Linked DNA regions of Homo sapiens: all the other regions are linked to region 1. Evidence: promoter capture Hi-C in 16 types of primary human blood cells and fetal thymus (Javierre and others, 2016). All regions are on one chromosome and are shown on one strand. The core of a region is centred on a gene start or on the middle of the fragment in contact, and the rest is flanking DNA. Distances in the headings are between cores, read along the strand shown.

Region 1 (3,395 bases), core at 749-3,248:
TCACTGCAACCTCTACCTCCTGGGTTCACACCATTCTCCTGCCTCAGCCTCCCGAGTAGCTGGGACTACAGGCACTCACCACCACGCCTGGCTAATTTTTTGTATTTTTAGTAGAGACAGGGTTTCACCATGTTCCAGGATGGTCTCGATCTCCTGACCTCGTGATCTGCCCGCCTCGGCCTCCCAAAGTGCTGGGATTACAGGCGTGAGCCACCGCGCCCGGCCTCATACCTACTTTTTAATGTCAGTACAGCAGGTTATGGTATGGAATGCATTTTGGAACAAGATATTAACAAAAATTCAAAGGAAAAAATACATGGCCATGGAATTCCAGTGCTGAGAGACATTTGGGAATATTGGGGGAGTTTTCCAAAAGAGAAATCCAGGTGACTGTATTTGTTAAATGAGTAACAAAAGGAAAAACAATGTAAAGAAACAGAAAGGAAAGGAAGAGAGAAATACAAAGATCTGAGAAGAGAAGGTGCCAGGGGCCGCTGAGAGATTGCCAAATGTTAATTTCATTATTTGGCTTCTTATTTTATTCTGGGTAAAGGTAGACCTATTAGTTTCCTGTTGCTGCTATAACAAATTACCACCAACTTAGTGGCCTCGAACAATGCAAATTTATTCTTTCAAAGTTCTGGAGGACAGAAGTCCAAAAATGTGTCCTATCAGCTGAAATCAAAGTGTTGTGTTCCTTCTGGAGGCTCTAAGGAGAATCTGTTCCTTCTCTTTTCTAGTTCTAGAGGCCATCTGCGTTCCTTGGCTCATGTCCTTCTTTCAGCAATGGCATCATCACTCTGACCTTTGCTTCCATTGTCACATCTCCTTGACTCTGACCCTTTTGCCTCCCTCTAATAAGGCCCCTCTGATTACACTGGGTCCACCAGATAATCCAGGATAGCTCTCTGTCTCAAGATCCTTAATTTAATCATATCTGCCAAGGGTTTTGTTTTGTTTTATTTTGTTTTTGCCATTTAAGGTAATATATCCACAGGTTCTGGCAATTAGGTTGTGGACATCTTTGGGGCGACAATTCTCAACCTACCATACAACCGGTACATAAGGTTCTACTACCTACTAAATGCATCATAAACAGAACTTCTGATCCTTCAACAACTCTGTGAAATATATGACAGGATTTGCTTTTAAAGTTGAAGAAATCAGGCCTTGGTGCAATTTGGGATTCTGCCCATGGTCAAATAGTGGGGAGGCAAACCCAGGTCCCTGAACCCAGCTCAAGCCTGCCTGCCTCATGGCCATGCCTCCATTCACCTCTCCCCTTCATGTCTACTTCCTCTTTCCTGTCTGGGCCTGTTCCCTAGCTCCCTGGACAAGCTTAAGCTGCTGTTTTCCAGCTTGTCATGTGCTCCTTATGACAGTGTAGCCACAGCTTGATCTTGGGGATTGCTGATTGAGCAAGCTGAGTGGCTGCCCCTCAGAATCTTCTGTAGGCCTTTCTCTTGCCTTCTTTTATTCAGTAAGTGTTTTGAGCTTATTGTGCTGGGTGCTAGAGTAGCAGGGAGGACAGACCTAAGTTGAAGATTACGGGACAATCTAAGTGACACCTGCTATCTCAGACAGAGACTTCAGCATCATAGGGAGCCAGAGCAGGGAGTTCCAAGCCGTGGGAACTGTGACTCTTTCTTACTGACCCTTAAGCAAAATTCTAAGCTCCAGGGAAGCAGAGGCAGCAGCTTGAGCTCCCTGATTGACCAGATATGATTAATCTTTGTTTCTCTGTGCTTTGAACATGACTATGCTCCATAAATATTTAAAAATTGGGAATAGGGTGAAGATAGATACACCAAAAGGAGCAAGCAGTGTCTGAAACCAGCAAAGACTTAAAAGTTACCGAAGAAGGTGTTCATGCTTTCATTTTATCTTTTTTTTTTAACCTAGCAACTGATGACACTGCATATCTTCCCCTGTTCTTATTGGGAGAAGGCCTTGTGTGTCACCAAGAGGTTCTCAGAAGGGACCTGTCAGTTTTTGGTTAAAAGAACCCGGAAAGAGAAGGACTATGGGGGAACTGATGGCGTTCCTGTTACCTCTCATCATTGTGTTAATGGTGAAGCACAGCGATTCCCGTGAGTATCCCACGTCCTCTTCTCTCCTAACTCCAAAGTCGAGGCAGCCTAGAAGGCACAGCTTTTCTTCCTAAAACTTGTGGTGAAAAATATAGAAGCCAGGGGCAGAAACGTGTATGTATTACACTCAGACTCCAGGAGCAATGGATTGCCTGAACAGTTTCCCAGTTCATATTTGTAGGATTTTGATGTCACCACCTTCTGAGGGAGGGGGAGCCGTTCTAGAAAGACTCTGGAACTTCCTCACTTTCCCTCTGAGCATGGCCTCCTTTCTTTTCTGCTCATATTTTTTCTTTTACTTTTGTTTCTCCTCTTTTCTAACTTCCAGAGTCTCATGAGGATGTAGTCAGAGTTTCAGGGGCATTAACAGTGGAGTAGATCCATTGTTCAGGTTTATTTATGTTTTTCCTCAACACAAGCCCTACCTGTAATAAAAGATCCAAGAAAGATAAAACCATGGCTCTGGGTTTGTTTACTGACTGTGAGAAGTATTAATCAAGTAGAAGGGAGAGTTTTTCATTATTCGGGGAGCTCAAGTCACTGGGGAAGCAAATGCCTTCTGTTGCCTCAAATAGGGGAAAGGGCCCATGGGCTAGAACCACCAGGCTTCTCTGCCCTAATCACTTGCTCCCTGGGCTGAGGACTGGTACTGGTGGGCAGTGTCCAGAACTTAGACTTGGCCACCACCATAGGTGTGACTGATGAACATGAGAGGAAGGAGTTCTTTCAAATCACCCATGCACATAGAGAGTGGAATGACTGACCATGGAGATTTGGAAGGGCGAGGGGGGTGGATGATTAGAAATTACTTAATGGGTACAATGTGTGTTACTTGGGTGATGGATACCTTAAAGCCCCAACTTGACCACTACACAATCTATGCTATAACAAAATTGCATGTGTACATCATAAATTTATACAAATAAAAAAATTTTAAATCATATGGCTGGGAGTGGTGGCTCACACCTGTAATCCTAGCACGTTGAGAGGCCGAGGCAGACGGATCGCTTGAGGTCAGGAGTTTGAAACCAGCTTGGCCATCATAGTGAAACCCCATCTCACTAAAAATACAAAAAATTAGCTCGGCACACCCATCTCTACTAAAAATACAAAAAATTAGCTGTGCACAGTGCGCACCTGTGATCCCAGCTACTCGGGAGACTGAGGCAGGAGAATCACTTGAACCCAGGAGGCGGAGGTTGCAGTGAGCCGAGATCATGCCACTGCACTCTAGCCTGGGTGACAGAGTGAGACTCCATCTCAAAAAAAAAAAATCCATATATTAATTGTTCAAATATTGATTGA
Region 2 (3,074 bases), core at 180-2,679, 540 kb before region 1:
TTTCTACCATGTGTTTAGAAAGTTTTGTGTAAAGTCTCATCTTTCTATTAGAATAGAGCCTGTAACTGTTCTTAACTCATCCACAGAACCTATCTACTTCTCAGGGATTTTCCCACTGTTTCCCATTACTCTAACTGATGCCTTCATCTAACCAGAATGATCTACTGACTGCCTTAGGTATTCCTAGTTCAGGGTTTTGCTTGTTACTCCACTCACCTGAAATGCCTTTTCTTCTTTCCTCAGCTTTTCAAGATGCTGCACGACCTTCCAGTTCTACTCAAATTTCAGATTCTAAGAACCCTTTCAGTCTACAATGATCTCATCTACCTCTGAATTCATAACAATTACCACCTCTATCATTTGCTTAGCGATTAATTGCATGGCCCTATGCTGTTATTAAAATGTATACTTACATAGAAGCAGCCCTGTTATGATGGAATAGAGAGAAGAAAGGGTGAAAAAGAAGGAGCCACATTTCTTGAACAATCACGATAGACCAAACACTTCACATATTTTATCTCAAATGGGCCAAAAAAAAAATCCTGCTAGGTATGCCATCACAAACTCATTTTATAAATGAAGAGAGAAGCTCAGGAGGGTTGTCTCAGTTCACACATTAGTATATCCTGAATTAGTAGTCCGGATTTAAATCAAAGAGTGTTTGACTCCAAAGCTCAATATCCCTTTACTACATCATTCTGTCTTAAATGCTAAATAGAGTCTGGGCTTCAATTCTGGACTCTCTAAAATCACATGAACTACCAGACTGTTAGAAATAATAAATGAGATAAATTATACAAACTTTAAGACATAAAAATAGCAATTATAACTATTTTTGTTTTTTATCCAGACACTATCCAGTGGCAGAAACAAATGCCAATAGTTCTCCATTTCTCCTATAGTAACAGAAGTCTCAGCTGGACACATGATCATCCGGCTAAACATTATACATGGCCATCCAACTTCTGCCTAGGTTCTGGGGACTGGATGTGTGGAAAAGTGATACAAATACCTTCCTTAAAAAGAAAAGGAGCTTGTCTTCCCCTTTCCCTTTGCTCTGGATAGGATATACATGTGGTGATGGTAAGCCACCTCTGACCATGAAAAAGGAACTTAGGGCAGCAGTTTTCAATTTTTTTAGTCTTGTAATCCCTTTATACTCTCAGAAATTAAGGATCTTAAAGAGCCATCATTTATATGGGTTATATCTATCGATATTTACCACATTAGAAATTAAAACTGGGACATTTAAAAAATGTGTATTAATTCATTTAAAAATAATAAACCCATTAGATGTTAACATAAATAACATTTCATGCAAAATAACTACATATTCTAAAAAAAATTAGTGAGAAAAGTAGCACTGTTTTACATTTTTTAATTTTTTTAATGTCTCGCTTAGTAGAAGCCAGTTGCATTTGCATATCTAATGCTGCATCCAGTCTACTGCAATATGTTGTTTTGGTTGAAGTATATGAAGAAAATTCGGCTTCACGCAGATATGTTGTTAGAAAGAGAGAGAAGTATTTTAGCAGCATTTTCAGATAATTGTAGATATTCTTCTTTGATACTATGCCAAAACCTAACAGATGGTAGTTTAAGGTCAGTTGCAACGAGGAATCTGAACTCATATCAATGAATTTTTCATACTGTTAACACTGAAATCCATTGGTCTGACTTGCACTTTGAAAGGCATCTTTTACCAACACATAATTTGTAACATCATTCCATGAAATATTTAGAAAATATGGTTTACTGAGTTACACAGACTTTTCAAATGTTGACACATTTCATGATATAACAGCAAACGTTCACATTCATGACTGTCACCACTTATCTCATCAAAAAAAGTTTTTAAGTACTGGGAAGCTGTCAAGCTCATGGTGGCAGATATAGATTTTCCAAATTTCTCATTTTCACTTGAAGGTTCAAATGTTATTACTGGCAACAAACACTTTGAGTTGTTTTCCTTGAAGTGACAGGCTTATTTCGTTCATTTTTAAGAAACTACCTGCCAAATACCCAAATTTGAGTAGGTATAATTATCTGTGAGTTGTTCTGTTAAGTAAAATTGGAAAAGAATATAGTTCATTTTGCGACTCAGAAATTACACAAGTGCTTTTCCTCAAAATAGTTAACATAATTCAGTATGCAGCAGAAGTACTTTGTGTGTACTTCCCATCTCATCACACAAAATGTAAGACTTGACTCAAGGGTTAATATTTAATAAAGTAGTATTAAGGCACGGTGGCTCATGCCTGTAATCCCAGCACTTTGGGAGGCCAAGGCAGGTGGATCACCTGAGATCAGGAGACCAGCCTGGTCAACCATGGCCAACATGGTGAAACCCCATCTCTACTAAAAATACAAAAATCAATCAGGTGCGGTGGCAGACACCTGTAATCACAGCTACTCGGGAAGCTGAGGCAAGAGAATAGCTTGAACCTAGGAGGCGGAGGTTGTAGTGAGCCCAGATTACGCCACTGCATTCCAGCCTGGATGACAGAGCAAAACTGTCTCAAAAAAAAAAAAAAAAGTATTATTAAACAGTATCTTATGAAGTCAACAGGAATTCACAAATTTTCATTACTCTCCAGTTTTCACAGCTGTCAATTAGCTATCTTTAGGAGGGAGAGTGTAGGCTGATGTAAAGAAGGACCAAAAAATTGTTCATTCGATTTTGTTAAAACTTTATTAAAAGATTATTCTGAAGCCATAGGCTTATCTGAGACTAATAAAGCTATGATGCTAAGTTTAGAGTTCTCCCTGAGAAAATAAGGTTCATATTTCAGCTTATTTTTATTATCTTCCTGCCAACAACCTCATCCAGCCTACAAAATAGGGTGCTATTCTGAATACAAAACGTTATTTTATAAATTTTGATCCAATATGCAGAAATGATATTGGACTTCCAACTTTATTATTCTATCAAAGATGCTATTCTTAACACTATCTCACAATTTTGTCAAAAATATTTAGGAGATTGATGAAAACTGCGGCCCAGTGTCATATATAAGTAAGCATATTATTCTCTAACAATGCAGAATTTTATTTTCAGATACAGAATATCTCTA
Region 3 (3,128 bases), core at 258-2,757, 550 kb before region 1:
TCTCTAAAAACAAACAAAATATTCATCAATCTCATTTAAAGCCTCTTCTCTAAAGAAATCAATACTTGCATGCTTATTGCAGCACTATTCACAATGGCAAAGATAAAAAGTCAACCTAAATGTCTATCACGGATGAATGAATAAATAAAATGTGGTATATATACACAATGAAATATTACGCAGCTATAAAAAAGAATGAAATGTTATTTGCAGCAACATGGATGGAACTTGAGGTCATTATCTTAAGTGAAATAAGCCAGACACAAAAAGACAAATATCACTTGTTCTCATTTATATATATGAGCTAAAAAATTTGATCACATGGAGGTAGAGAGTGGAAAGACACATAACAGAGACTGGGAGGGGCAAGTAGGGGGAAGAGGGGAAAATGAAGAGAAGTGGGTTAAAGGGTATAAACATACAGTAAGAAAGAAGGAATAAATTCAATGTTTGATAGCAGAGTAGAGGGACTACACTTGACAAAAATGTACAGATACCCGAAATGCCCTGATTTGATCAGTACAGCACTATATACATGTAACAAAATTTCACAGGTACCCCATATATTTGTAGGAAAATACAAGCAGTATGGCAGGTACGCCTGTAATCCCAGCACTTTGAGGCGGAGGCGGGTGGATTGCTTGAGTCCAGGAGTTCGAGACTGGCCTGGGCAACATGGCGAAACCCTGTCCCTATTAAAAATACAAAAAACTAGCTGGGTGTGGTGACACGCACCTGTAGTCCCAGGTATTCAGGAGGCTGAGGTGGGAGGATGGCTTGAGCCCCGAAGGCAGAGGGTTCAGTGAGCAGAGATCGCACCACTGCACTCCAGCCTGGGTGATAGAGCCAGACCCTGTCTCAAAACCAAAGAAAAAAAGAAAATACAAGCAGAAAATACAAGCAGTCTGATAGTACTGGAATCTAAAATAAAAGATGAAGAGGGATAAAAGGTGGGACTCAAATGTGGATATAAACCAGATTATGGTGGACTTTGTATATCATGCTAATTTAGCCTGTGAGTAAAGGGGAACCACTTTTAAATGGGATAAACATGGTCAGATATACATTCAGATAAGTCACGTCCGAAGCAATGTGGAAAACAGAACTCAGAGGGACCACACTCAAAACAAGGAGAATACAGGAGGCATTGCAACAGCCTAGGCAAGAGATGATGATATATTAAGAAAGAGGCAGTAGGGGTAGAAAGAAAGTGATAGATGCAGATTACTTAAAAGATAAAATTAGTGACACTTGGTAACTAATTAAATAGGTCACTAAGAAAAAGCAGTAAGAAAAGATTCAGGGATCACTGCTAGGTTTCTCACTTGAATGAACTCAGTATATGGCAATACCATTAAATAAGGAAAGAAGCAGAAGAAAGCATCTGAAGGCAGGGTAAGGGGGTAGACAGTTGATAAGTTCTATTTTAGACCTGTTGAGTCTGAAGTGCCAATGCAACACTAAACAGAAATGCTCAATAAGTATTCCAGCACATGAAACTCAAAGCCAAAAAGGCAGAGTTCTTCAAGTCAAATGGAGCTTGTAGAAGTACTTGATTAGGCTCACATTATGTTTAACTTTAAAAAAAATCAGAAGATGTCACTTAAAAAATGAGATTTCAGGCTGGGCACGGTGGCTCATGCCTGTAATCTAGCACTTTGGGAGGCCGAGGTGGGTGGATGACTTGAGGTCAGGAGTTCGAGACCAGCCTAACCGACATGGTGAGGCCTTGTCTCTACTGAAAATACAAAAATTAACTGGGCATGGTGGCATGTGCCTGTAGTCCCAGCTATCCAGGAGGCTGAGGCAGGAGAATTGCTGGAACCCGGGAGGCAGAGTCTGCAGTGAGCGGAGATCGCACCACTGTACTCCAGCCTGACAACAGAGTGAGACTCCGTCTCAAAAAAAAAAACAAAAAAAAAACAAGATTTTATATCAGATCTGGCACTACTGAGCATTCATGGCAATAACTGGCTGGAGCTAACATCCAATTCCCCTCTTTAAATAGGGCATGCACTTCACTGCAAACCACAACCTTGTGATTCTCTCTATATAAATCAAAACCGACTTCATTCATTTATGTTAATGGCTTGGCCCATGAAGGCGCTTGTTTTTGATTTTTTTTTTTTGTGACCCTGGTCTAAAAACCCTAATCCCTGATCAGGATCACAGAAAAGATCAGGGCTAAAAAATAAATTTAGAATCAATATAGACTGTGGTTAAAACTGCAAGAATGATAAGGAGAGACACAGTTTTGAAAATCATCAACACAGGCTGAAACTTGGGGCAAAAAAATACTTAATCATGCAGACTTTGTGCTTTATAATATTTCTATTACCTTAAAAGTGGCCTTTACCATACTCAAATCTTAATTCAAAATTCACTTTCCCTGTGTATATTTTAATTTCTTCAGCAACACTGTTAGTCTTTAACCAAAAATGCTAAGTTTTCTATTTATTCCCAGGTAGCTTTTTTCAGGAATTGCTAATAGCATCCTACATATCTATATGCTCTAAAAATGCTAATTAAATTAAATAAAGTATTCCCCTTATACTGAGCATAAGTTATGCCCTGGAACTTGAAGAAACAAAAGAAGAACCAGAAGGTTGGAAATACACTCTAAGAGAGAAATATAATGGATTCATGTTATTTACCCTGGAAAAGAGAATTATAAGGAAATTAGAATAATCTAGGTATCCTCTATGGTATGGCCCTGTGCTGAACTTTGTAGGTGGTAAATAGTAACACAAAGGCGAATCTGACACGGTCCTTGCCTTGAAGAGTCTATGGGCTGGATGGAGTACTATCAAGTTCGATAGTCAGGTGAATTTCTTTCTGAGATGAGAGTTTTAATACATGAGAAATATATAACTTAAAGAAATATTCTCTAGCATAAGGCACCTAGAGAACCTCAATTTAATACCTTATAGTCAACAAAAATTAGATATGAATAACAAGAAAAAAGTCAAAGGTAAATTTTTGTCAAAAACAAATCTGTTTAGTTATTTTTTTAAATATAAATTATAAAAATTATGACTGCCTTCATAGGTAAGTATAAACAACAGGTATAAATTTATCTATCTTTCAATAATTTTTATAGGTAAAAGATAACTAGCTGATGTTACAAA
Region 4 (3,151 bases), core at 112-2,611, 870 kb before region 1:
AAGACACCTGACACTTCAAAAAGCCTCTGTCACCCAGCTCTGCATTGCGTTGACAGTAAAGCTTAAATGCAGCTTTGCTTTAACAATGGAGCACTCACATAAGGACCTTCTCTATTCCATCTCCTGTTACTTGTCAAAAGACAAAATTACACCACATTCAAAAATCTTAACTGGCTTCTATTTGTGATTCTGGAATCGGACAACACCACATTCTGTCTTACAGAATGAGTATTCTGATGAGCTGAGCAGAGGAGTTTGGCTTTATAGACAGAAAAAGGCTGAAGAAAGTAGAAACAGATCAAAAATCTGATTGGTTATTTCGGTCCCTTTTAAAGGTTAAAGCAGAGGAGACTTCTGTATGTTGGCTGAAACTGGCTTGTTTGAAGATTTGACTGTTAACTCACTCTCTCCTGATCTTGGAAGGTCAGATCGACAGCTTAGTTTTGGCTTGGTGGCGTGGAACTTCAGCTTGAGGGACTCCATCTTGGTTTGGTCTCTTGGGCCTTGTGCAGGAGCTCAGTCCCAACCAATGGCCTCCTAGAAATATTATTTAACAGTTCTCCCCTTTTGGTCAGGTTCTCACCTAGGTGAGAGTTACTAAAACAGGGCATCAGCACTACTCTCAGTAATCATCGTTTTGGGTTTTCGGTCTTAACACATCATTTATAGGTTAAGGTGTCCTCATTATCATGCGTTTCTTGGAGTTTTATCATTCCAGCTGGAGAGAGACCATTTAGCATTCAGCAGAGGGCTGCATATAGATATTTAAGACTCTTTGAGAGGATACAGTGTAACAGGGAAACTACTGTAATGACTCTCCCCAGGATAATACTAAGAGTTTACAATATGACGCTTAGCCAGGGACCCATGAACCAAACCAACTAAAATTGAAGAGATCAAAGAATGAGCCAGATGAGGAATTTACCCTTTTTAAGCAAGTACTATTTGTTCATTTTTTTGCAACTGAGTCTCAATACACTATGTGTCTATCCATGTGCAACAGAAAGTGTCAGCAATTGCACAGATTCCCTGTTCGCTAGTAGGTAGCAGTTCTATTATCTAGTATCCCATGACTGGGTTAAATTAAAGCAGGAAGTGAGAACACATGGGTCTAAAAGTCTGACTCTATAAAAGGGACCACTAGTACAGTTTGAACAACAGTTGTGTTAGGGATGTTGCTGAAGTTACCCACTGGGCAGACTAAAGGATCCCTTTGGTCATGTAAAGATCTGGGTTTAGCGTGACAAATCCAACAGTTTGTGAAGTTACCCACAGAAGCCACTGATTGTGAAATTCTAACTACAGCATTATCCTGCCAGACAAAAAAAGGTAGATGTAATCAAGGATAAAGTGGAAGTCTTATTCCAATGAAACTCTTGTTCAGAAGTTTTGGGAAAGCATGAAGTTGTCAACTTCTTGTCCTGGTTTGCAGTTTGATTGTCTCTGGTTATGGCATTGGGCATTTTGGTGAACTCTTTGTGTAGCGTACACGTCAGGCATGAGACTTGTCCCTTGAAATGTATATCAAGTTGTTCAGCTTCTGTTTATAGGGCTTTAGGCACAGAACAGTTCCTGTTCTTAGTTGGAGAATTGTAGCTAGTTATTGGAAGAAACTGGAAGAATTCAGAATTCAATCCATCTTATAGGTAGATGATAAAAACTTGAAAATGATCAACAAGGCTACAATCTAATAACAGATGTACTATAGTTTTTCTTTAGGAACATATTTTTTCTCTCTATAGTCACCCCCATTTCTACCAAAGATAATCAGGGTAAGTGGGAGGCAGAGGTCACAGTGAGCCGAGATTGCACCACTGCACTCCAGCCTGGATGACAGAGCAAGACTCCATCTAAAATAAAATAAAATAAAATAAATAAAATAAAATTCAGACTAATTTGCTTGCAGAAAATATTTAGTCACATCAGACTTGGCCTAATTATTTACATAAGTGTGGCAAGAATAGTGATTGACCACGTAGGCTCTTCTTAAGTTTGCTTTGCTAGAACTTATCGATAAGGAATCTCAGATTGGACTTTTAACAACTTCTCAAGGCTAGGAAGTCAACCCAAGCCCAACTTCAGATTTCACCTGCAGTACCTATAGATTCATCATAGGTATATTCTCAAGTATGGCATCACACTCAAAACCTTGGTAATATGACCAGTGTTTCCTATTGTATCCTGTTGTAAAGAGAGCAGATACTTATTGAACTTATGCAAATAACAGTATTGCCATAAAAATAGGAATATTCACAAATAGTTTCTGAATTCCAGAGAGGTCTTGTAGGGAGAAAATGTTTCCATTTTTGTTCACAAGAGTATACTTACCAAATTGCTGTAAACTATAGATAGCTTAAAAGAAAATAAGTTTTCTTAAATCTGGACAACAAAACATTAAAAAGAACCAGCAACGTTTCAAATTTAAAAACCAGAAAAACCCATAATTCTTCATTAGTTCATTTAGTCTCATGTAATTAATTCTTGTTGTGCTTGATCTTGGTTATCAGTTTTGCAGACCCATCAGTTTTTTTCATTAGAGTTCTGGAAATTCTTTCCCAGTCCAATCGTATTATCTCGAAGTTATCAGAAATGGTACTTATCAGAGACGTTTCCGTGGATCTCCTTGAAGATGAAGCACTTCAGGATTATAGTTGCTTAGAAAAAAGCTTTTAGAAAAACATCAGAATAAAGCAATTAACTGTAGACAATAAGACTTAAAATGGTTGTGGTTAAAGATCTGATGAGAGTTCATAGTAATAATGACACAATTGACAAGGAAATCTGGTTATTGCTGTGCATACAACATTTTAACCTAATAACCAAAATTAAGGCTGATAATGTATCATATTTCTAGGAATATCATATAATTTTGGGGATACACCTTAATAGCAAGTATAAACATACATCAATAAATATAACTCAAAGAAGATTAAACATCATTTCTTGTTTGACAATGCTTCCCATATAATTAATACATCAAATGAGCCTAACTAGTTTAGTATCTCCCCTTTGCAGAATCTTTGAGATGTTCCAGGGCCCCCTGAAATGTTCCAAAGTTACTTCAAGTTCAGAAAGCCTTAATTTAGAATTTGATTTTGGGAAGTTTGTACAAAATGTCAAAGGTTTAAAATTAAAACACTTAATCAGCCTG

The links. The method cuts DNA at HindIII sites, captures the fragments that hold promoters and counts their contacts. A CHiCAGO score of 5 or more calls a contact.
Region 2: a contact is called between a fragment that was not itself captured here and the fragment with the promoter of MR1 in region 1, in 11 of 17 cell types (total CD8 T cells, total B cells, fetal thymus and 8 more). The highest score is 11.7, in total CD8 T cells.
Region 3: a contact is called between a fragment that was not itself captured here and the fragment with the promoter of MR1 in region 1, in 3 of 17 cell types (total B cells, total CD4 T cells and activated CD4 T cells). The highest score is 5.8, in total B cells.
Region 4: a contact is called between a fragment that was not itself captured here and the fragment with the promoter of MR1 in region 1, in 1 of 17 cell types (total B cells). The highest score is 6.0, in total B cells.

What each region holds. Positions count from the first base shown.
Region 1 is chr1:181,031,985-181,035,379 of GRCh38, forward strand. It overlaps MR1 (major histocompatibility complex, class I-related), which reads left to right and starts at 1,999. Exons shown (of 6, transcript NM_001385161.1): 1 at 1,999-2,090. The coding sequence starts at 2,024. RefSeq lists enhancers at 1,179-1,368, 1,569-1,668, 1,799-1,908. The HindIII fragment of the contact is 2,248 bases long and covers 1,337-3,395 here.
Region 2 is chr1:180,496,336-180,499,409 of GRCh38, forward strand. All of the region lies in intron 1 of ACBD6 (acyl-CoA binding domain containing 6), which reads right to left. Among named protein-coding and RNA genes, the nearest start is that of ACBD6, 4.7 kb to the right of the region's middle. The HindIII fragment of the contact is 4,552 bases long and covers 1-3,074 here.
Region 3 is chr1:180,479,129-180,482,256 of GRCh38, forward strand. The region is part of intron 3 of ACBD6 (acyl-CoA binding domain containing 6); the gene reads right to left. Among named protein-coding and RNA genes, the nearest start is that of ACBD6, 22 kb to the right of the region's middle. The HindIII fragment of the contact is 5,657 bases long and covers 1-3,128 here.
Region 4 is chr1:180,159,308-180,162,458 of GRCh38, forward strand. The region is part of intron 1 of QSOX1 (quiescin sulfhydryl oxidase 1); the gene reads left to right. Among named protein-coding and RNA genes, the nearest start is that of QSOX1, 6.0 kb to the left of the region's middle. The HindIII fragment of the contact is 2,605 bases long and covers 60-2,664 here.